2 separate regions of the Homo sapiens genome follow, and region 2 is linked to region 1. Evidence: promoter capture Hi-C in human tissues and cell types (Jung and others, 2019). All regions are on one chromosome and are shown on one strand. Each heading gives the region's core, a stretch centred on a gene start or on the middle of the fragment in contact. The rest is flanking DNA. Distances are from core to core; before and after follow the strand shown. Region 1 holds the start of ZNF592 (zinc finger protein 592). Region 2 holds the start of LINC00933 (long intergenic non-protein coding RNA 933).

Region 1 (3,780 bases), core at 947-3,446:
TCAAAATATTTCAATCTTTATGCACTCTTTAAATCTTGTAGGAAGAGGCGGACTTCTCTGACTTTTTGCTCACCCCTTTCCCCCTTCCCATCTACTTTTCCTTTTCTGGTTTCTTGCACCATCAATTATCCTACATCTATCTGCCATTCTCCCCTCTCAGCTCCTTTAGTTAAGGTCTCCCCACTCAAGTTAGGAAAAAAAAAAAAAAAATCACCGGCCAGGCATGGTGGCTCATGCCTGTAATTCCAACACTTTGGGAGGCTAAGGCAGGTGGATCACCTTAGGTCAGGAGTTCGAGACCAGCCTGGCCAACATGGCGAACCCCCATCTCTACTAAAAATACAAAAATTAGGGCCGGGTGCGGTGGCTCATGCATGTAATCCCAGCACTTTCGGAGGCCGAGGCGGGTGGATGACCTGAGTTCAGGAGTTTGAGACCAGCCTGACCAACATGTTGAAACCCCATTTCCACTAAAAATACAAAATTAGTCAGGCATGGTGGCGCATGCCTGTAATCCCAGCTACTCGGGAGGCTGAGGCAGGAGAATCGGTTGAACCCAGGAGGCAGAGGTTGCAGTGAGCCGAGATTGTGCCATTGCACTGCAGCCTGGGCAACAAGAGCGAAACTCTCTCTCAAAAAAAAAAAAAAAAAAAAAAAAAAAAAAAGCCAGGCATGGTGGCGTGCGCCTGTAATTCCAGCTACTTTGAAGGCTGAGGCTGGATTATCACTGGAACTCTGGAGGTAGAGGTTGCAGTGAGCCGAGACCACGCAATTGCACTACAGCCTGGGCTGCGAGACCGAAACTCCGTCTCCAAAGACAAAAAAAAAAAACAAAAAACAATCAACTTTTCCCTTTACTCTTTTGCAGAGAGGGAGGGTCTCGCTATGTTGCCCAGGCTGAACTCAAACTTCTCGGCTTAAGGGATGCTTTTGCCTCAGCTTCCACAGTAGGACCCAACTTTCTCCTTTACTCTTGGTACTTCTTGAGCTCCAGGCCTACTTTTCTCTCTCTCACTGCCAAACATTTGAAATCATCACCCTTTATTAACTCCATTGCTTCATTGGCTAACATACTCTTTAGACAAGCTCTTCAACTCAGTTCTGTGCCTGGTGCACAGCAGGCTCCGGCTGCATGTTAGTTCCAGCCATCTTGCACATTTGCATCTCCTTCCTGGAGAAGGAATTTCTCCATGGTTAGCAGTGTGTGCTCACTCCTAGTCACCAGGGCCTCATCTCCGTGTTCCCACACCCTGACCTTGCTGCCGCCCTAATGCTGCGGACCCAGTTTCCAGGTACGCCGGGTTCTTGGAAGGTCCTGCCGGTCACCCTCCCAGCCTTCTGCCAGACTCACTGAGTTCTCACCCTGCACAGTCATCGTTTCCCCAGTAACCCTGAGAGATCTCCCAGTCTACCTCTTCGAGGCACCCGTTGCCAGTCCTCCATCTCTGTTTGCCGCGCGTCCCTCGGTTACCCCAGAGGCAACACGTCAGGCTGCCCCGCACCTCCAAGCCTGCGCGAATGTCCTTGTAGCCAGCTATGACCAAACATTTAGGGCGCACCTGAGCGCCAGGCCCACGCCACCCCTGCTTGCTTTCACTTAACAGCCTCGACTAGGCCCCCTATGCGCCAGGTCTCAGTGAAGAGGACGCAGTCCCGGGTCCTGGGCGCTCTTTGCCGGGCGAGACAGCTGCGTAGGCAGATCCTGTTCCTCTAGTGGGCGGCCTCGGCCCCTGCCCCTGCCCCGAGGCGCGTCAGAGGACAAGAGGCCCAGGTCGCTGGCAGCGGCTGCCTGCCCGACCGCACAGGGTGCCTAGCACGGGTGGCGGGGACTGGAGCCGGGCGGGGGCCGGCCGGGGTCGGGGGTCCAGCCCTGAGCGGCGCCGTCCCCGCCCCGCCCCGTCCCGTCGCGTCCCGCCCCGCCCTACCCGCCGCCGCCGTCGTCGCCGTCGCCGGGCCTGCGCCGCGCAGCCCGCCTCGGGCGGGAGGCGGGAGGCGGGAGGCCGGGCCCAGGCCGGGGCAGCCCCTCCACCGCACCGTCCTGGGCCGGTGCCCAGGTCCGAGTCGCCTTCCGCCTGCCCCCCCCCCCCCCCAATCCCCCGCCGCGGCAGCCCCAGCCAGGTCCCGCCGCCAGGCCGGCTCCCGCCCCCGCTCCGCCCCCGGAGCCGCAGCCCCGCCCGCCATCGCCGTCGCCATGTTGTGGCTCCCGCAGCCGGCGCTGGGGACGCGCGCGGCCGAGACTCTGGCCTGCAGTCGCCGCCGCCGCCGCCAGGTAAGCGCCCCCCGCGGGCCGGGCCGAGCGGGGCCTGCGGGCCGGGGCAGCCCCAGCCTGGGCCCGGGAGGATCGCAGCCGGGACCGAGTCCGAGCCCGAGCCGGGGCCCGGCCCTGCAGCCTGGCGGACCCTGGCCGCCGCCAGAGGCGGCAGCCACTTCCCCCGACCGCCGCCTGGCGGGCCCGGGCCGCCACCCCACCCCGCCCCCGGCCGTCGGGCGCCGGCCCCTTCCGCCGCTGCGACCGCCGCTGCGACCGCCGCTCCTTGGCAGGCCGGGCACGCTGCTGTCCTCCGCGCTGGGCGGGACGTGCGGCCGCCCTCGGCGATAGCCGGCGGCCCCCAGCCCGGGCACGGATAACGGTGCCACTTTCTCCCTCTGGGACGGCCTGTCAGCCCGACCGTCCCCGCCGCCCGAAGAGCTGTCGCCGTCACAGGGCAGACACTTCGGGGAACGACCCTCTTTGGCGCTCCTCAGTACTCCCCTCCCCTGAGCCCAAGTTCTGACCCTGAGGAAGGTTTCTCCCGGAGCAGACAGGTATTCCTAGAGCTCCAGAGTTGGGGTCCTCAGGGGTGACCAGGCCTGTTGATCAGGGTGAAAATTGTCTCTCTGCAAGGGCTCTTCCTGCCAACGAGGGGGTTGGCGGGAGGCTCAGTGTGACCTGAGGGAGGACAGGAGAGCGTCTGCTGGACAGATGGCCTCCTGGCCTTGGATCAGCGTTTGTGAGGGGGAGGGGTCCGTATGACCTTAGGTATGCCTGCTCCTGAGTACTGCAGGATTATTGAAGCTGTTTAGGGATTTTAAACCATTTTTTGAGTAGGCCAAAGGTGGCATTAAAGGTCCTGGATTGGAATAAGTCCACAGGCCCACCCAGGGAAGCATGTTTGGCATCCAGGACTAGTCTAGAATAGGACTGGCAGTAGAAGAATGGGACTTGGGGAGTAAGACGGTATTTGGCTTATGGTTTGCCCACTTGAGTTCAGGCCTGTGCTCATGGAGGGCCTGTAGGGTGCTTCTGTCGCGGGTGCAGTGTGGTGCACAGTGTGGCAGAGTGCGGAGGATGTGGACAGACAGATTCCTGGCCTGGTGGATGCTTGGTGGTATTTTAGTAGTCTGTTTCCTCAACCTCACTGTTACGTTACACAGTGAAAGGGGCAGAAGTGTGGTGCTAGTGCGTCCATTTTGATCATTTTCCAATTTTTCAACTAGTTGTGGCTTTGATTCATTAAATAAATTTTTACTGAGCACTTACTCTGTGCCAGGCACTGAGCTAGGTGTTGGGAGTACATTGGTAAGCCAGAAAGATACCATGTTTTAGTTCTTAGCCATTGGGAAAGTCTAATAATTAATAGTCGTGGCCGGGCGCGGTGGCTCGCGCCTGTAATCCCAGCACTTTGGGAGGCCGAGGCGGGTGGATCGCCTGAGATCAGGAGTTCGAGACCAGCCTGACCAACATGGTGAAACCCCGTCTCCACTAAAAAAATACAAAATTAGCCGGGTGTGGTGGTGCAT
Region 2 (3,780 bases), core at 740-3,239, 180 kb before region 1:
TGATTTTTTAAGGGAGAGGGAACACATACAAGCAAAGGAGAAAAGAGATGAGCAGATGACTGAAAGATACAAAATTCTGATAGTGGTACATTCTGAGTGGTAGAATTATTGGTATTACTTTCTAGTTTTGCCTAAAAATTTTCTAAATTTCTTAAAATAAGAACTTTTTGTTACCCATATTATAAAATATCCATCACCCCAGGAAACTTAACCTTGAGCACAAACTCTACAACATGTTCAATGTTTGTTCAGTTTAATATTTAAGAGACAACCTATTTTGAAAGAAATCTAAAATGATGACCAATATTTAAACCTATGCATTAATATTTTTCAATCATATCCTTTACATTTTGTAATTTTGATAAGGTTAAGCTTTAGATCCATCTTGAAAAGATAAGTTTTCTATTTGTCTTTAAAATACGACCCACAATATGCCTGTTTTTAAACAGTGAATGATGCTCAAAAATCACAATATAAATTCAGGCAGTGTTCCCTACATGGAATGTTTAAGTACTTCTAACACTGCTCTTTTTCACCGGTTATGAAAACACAGAACAATTATCTAAGCATCTAATTATTCAGGTCCTTTGTTTCTCCTCCATTCTATTAGTTTTATAGTAATTTTAGGGCCTGTGAGGATGAAGTTCTCTGTGACAGCTACCACAAAGCTTACTATAAGCAGACAAATTTCAAACAAGTTTATCACCACTACCAACCCCACCATAAAACTGTCTCAATCAAGGGCAACACAATTCAAGGTTAGCCAAGACAACCTCTTTACCTGTCACTGCTTAAGAAAAGGATTTTTTGGTCTTAATTAGAAACAATATTCTGTATCTATTTTTCTCCATAAATCCACTGAGACCAATGTGTGGCTCTATCTCAAGCACCAGCAAGCAAAACTGCCTGCCGGTATGTTAGGTTTTTGTATCTTTCCAAATGTAGGGCACAGCTATCTTTTGATATAATTTTTTGAAAACTGATGCACATATTTTTCTTGCAAGTTCAGCCAGGCACGGTAGCTCATGCCTGTAATCCCAGCACTTTGGGAGGCCAAGGCAGGCAGATTATGAGGTCAGGAGTTCAAGACCAACCTGGCCAACATGGTGAAACCCGACTCTACTAAAATTACAAAAATTAGACAGGTGCAGTGGCAGATGCCTGTAATCCCAGCTACTAAGGAGGCTGAGGCAGGAGAATCGATTGAACGTGGGCGGCAGAGTTTCCAGTAAGCCGAGATTGTGCCACTGCACTCCAGCCTGGGTGATAGAGTGAGACTCCTTCTCAAAATTAAAAAAAGAAAAAAAGAATTTCAGATATACAGCAGTTGTAATTTTTCTGAAGGCTGGTTATGGGACACGTTACTTTCATACTTTGCTGTTCAATAAATGTGGGGTGGAGAATAAAGTAAATTGACAGAATTACCATATAAAATAAAATTCTAAGTCCTCTGACAACAAAAGAAACTTATAACACACACACACACACACACACACACACACACACACACACACACACAGAGTTTTCCCTGCTAATCATTTTACATCTAAACAACCAAGTAGCTAACCCAGAGCCCACAAAAGCAGAGTAAAAATTCTAACACTTGGTAAAATAAAAATGCACATATATCCCTGTCATCTAAAAAAAAATGCTTACGTATTCAAAGACAGCAATTACAGCTACTGAGAACATCATTGTTAGCAAACTGAGGCAGAGAAAACAAAGGTGCTGATGAGGATTTGAACCACCTAAGCTGCAGAAACCCACTGGATGGTTTCCTAGGTTCCAAGTTGGCATTATCTTTCAGAACGATCTTCTAGAAGAGATCACATAACACTGTTACAAAGGATCTGGAGAAAGGGACCCTGGCTTCATCACTCTGGCTCTCCAGTCATGCTTTACATTTTCACTTCTTACACTCTCTTTCATAGGAAGTCAATTTACAGGCCTCCATCAAGCCCTTAGAGACCTTTTTGTACTATCCATGACAAGTTCTTGATGTTATGTCTGCACTTCTGACAAATTCTTAGCAGTTAACTTACAAGGCAGTTAAGGTTTTTGTTCAAGCACAATATAGCTAGAATAGGGTCATACATTCAATAAAACAAATATTTACCAAGCATTTATTGAGTAGAAGATAAAAAGCACAAAGCATAATTATAAACTATTCTCCCCTGCCATCATAAAAAAAAAATTAAAAAGCCTTACAGAATACAGCATAACATGACCAAAGCAAAAATAGTGAGGACTAAAGAGGGGAGGAAGGGGAAATATCAGCATGAACTGAATATGACCCAGAAGAGCCTTGATGGTCAGACATGTAAAGACAAATTGGGTAGGGTTAGGGGGTGGCTGTCAGGGGCACATTCTACAGGGGAAAAATAGATGATACAGAAGCCTGAAAGGAAAGCGGGCAGAGCACCTGGACAGGACTCTTACCTGCTGCATCCAGGGTACAATGTGCCTTTCCAGAACACAGCAGCGACCCGGGATAGAGGGATCGCTCAAACAGCACCAGAGGCTGCATTCCAACTTTTCCTCCATCAACAAGCCCGTTTTCATTGTTAGTTTCTCCTTAAACACGATTGGCTGAACATGCGGGAACAAGGAAAACCTGACTGAAGAACGAGGCATTTAAGCTTAAGGGCCTTGGATCTGGGCGCGGTGGCTCAGGCCTGTAATCCCAGAACTCTGGGAGGCAGAGATGGGTCATTTGAGGTCAGGAGTTCGAGACCAGCCTGGCCAACATGGTGAAACCCTGTCTCTACTAAACAACACAAAAGTTAGCCAGGCGTGGTGTCAGGAGCCTGTAATCCTAGCTACTCGGGAGGCTGAGGCAGGAGAATCGCTTGAACCCATGGACTGTCAAGAGACGGAGGCTGCAGTAAGCCGAGATCACCCCACTGCACTCCAGCCTGGGCGACAGAGTGAGACTCCATCTCAACAAGTGCCTGCCACCATGCCCGGCTAATTTTTGTATTTTTAGTAGAGACAGGGTTTTACCATGTTGGCCGGGCTAGTCTAGAACTCCTGACCTCAGGCGATCCAGCTGCGTCAGCCTCCCAAAGTACTGGGATTACAGGAACGAGCACTGCGCCCGGCCAAAACCCCGAAAATCTTGAAGGCCTTTCCCCTTCCCCGCCCGGGCTCAAACAACAGCCGGAGACGCCCTGCCACGCCCCGTCGCGGTCCCGGGGAGCAGGCTGGCTGACTGAGGGCGACCATGGGCCCCGAAAGGGCTGCGGGCGACGCGGGCTCCCACCTCGGGGCGCGGTGACTGGGGCGAGAGGTGCCGGCAGCCCCCAAGCCAGCCCCGCAGCAAGGAGCCAGAGAGACGCGCCCTCCCCCTCCTCCCACCCAAGCCTCCCGCAGTCCCGGCGATCGGGGCCAGGCCAGTCGCGGGAGAAAGGTGCGCGCTCACCCGGCCCGGGGAACCGGGGCCTCTCCTGGGCAGGTTCCCCTTTGTCCCGGGACTCCGGGCTCTTCCTCTCCGCCCTCGCCCTGCCGTGTGAAGCCGCCGCTGGGCGCCTCACCGTGATGTTGCAGTGGAGCCTGAGCTGCCGCGGCGGCTCCTGGTTCTTGTGGAAAATAGAGGACAACAACTTCAGCTTGGCCTTGAACCCTGACACGGACATTTTACTCTCACCTCTGGCGGGAGGGGCGCGGAAGGTGAGCCGGTCGGGAGCCGCTGTCATGGCCGCGACCACCCGCGGGACCTCTCGGCGGCGCTCTCGCGGCTCCGCCTCTCCCCGCTGCCTCAACTCTAGTCGGAGTAGGGCT

Evidence for each region. The method cuts DNA at HindIII sites, captures the fragments that hold promoters and counts their contacts. A contact is called where the count stands out against the background at its distance.
Region 2: a contact is called between a fragment that was not itself captured here and the fragment with the promoter of ZNF592 in region 1, in 2 of the 25 tissues and cell types used here (adrenal gland and spleen).

The regions. Positions count from the first base shown.
Region 1 is chr15:84,746,396-84,750,175 of GRCh38, forward strand. It overlaps ZNF592 (zinc finger protein 592), which reads left to right and starts at 2,197. Exons shown (of 11, transcript NM_014630.3): 1 at 2,197-2,269. RefSeq lists enhancers at 1,349-1,648, 1,721-2,560, 3,089-3,168 and silencers at 1,719-2,138, 2,199-2,688. The HindIII fragment of the contact is 21,328 bases long and covers 1-3,780 here.
Region 2 is chr15:84,567,066-84,570,845 of GRCh38, forward strand. LINC00933 (long intergenic non-protein coding RNA 933) reads left to right here and starts at 3,584. Exons shown (of 4, transcript NR_038274.1): 1 at 3,584-3,669. It also overlaps the pseudogene UBE2Q2P1. The HindIII fragment of the contact is 5,545 bases long and covers 1-3,780 here.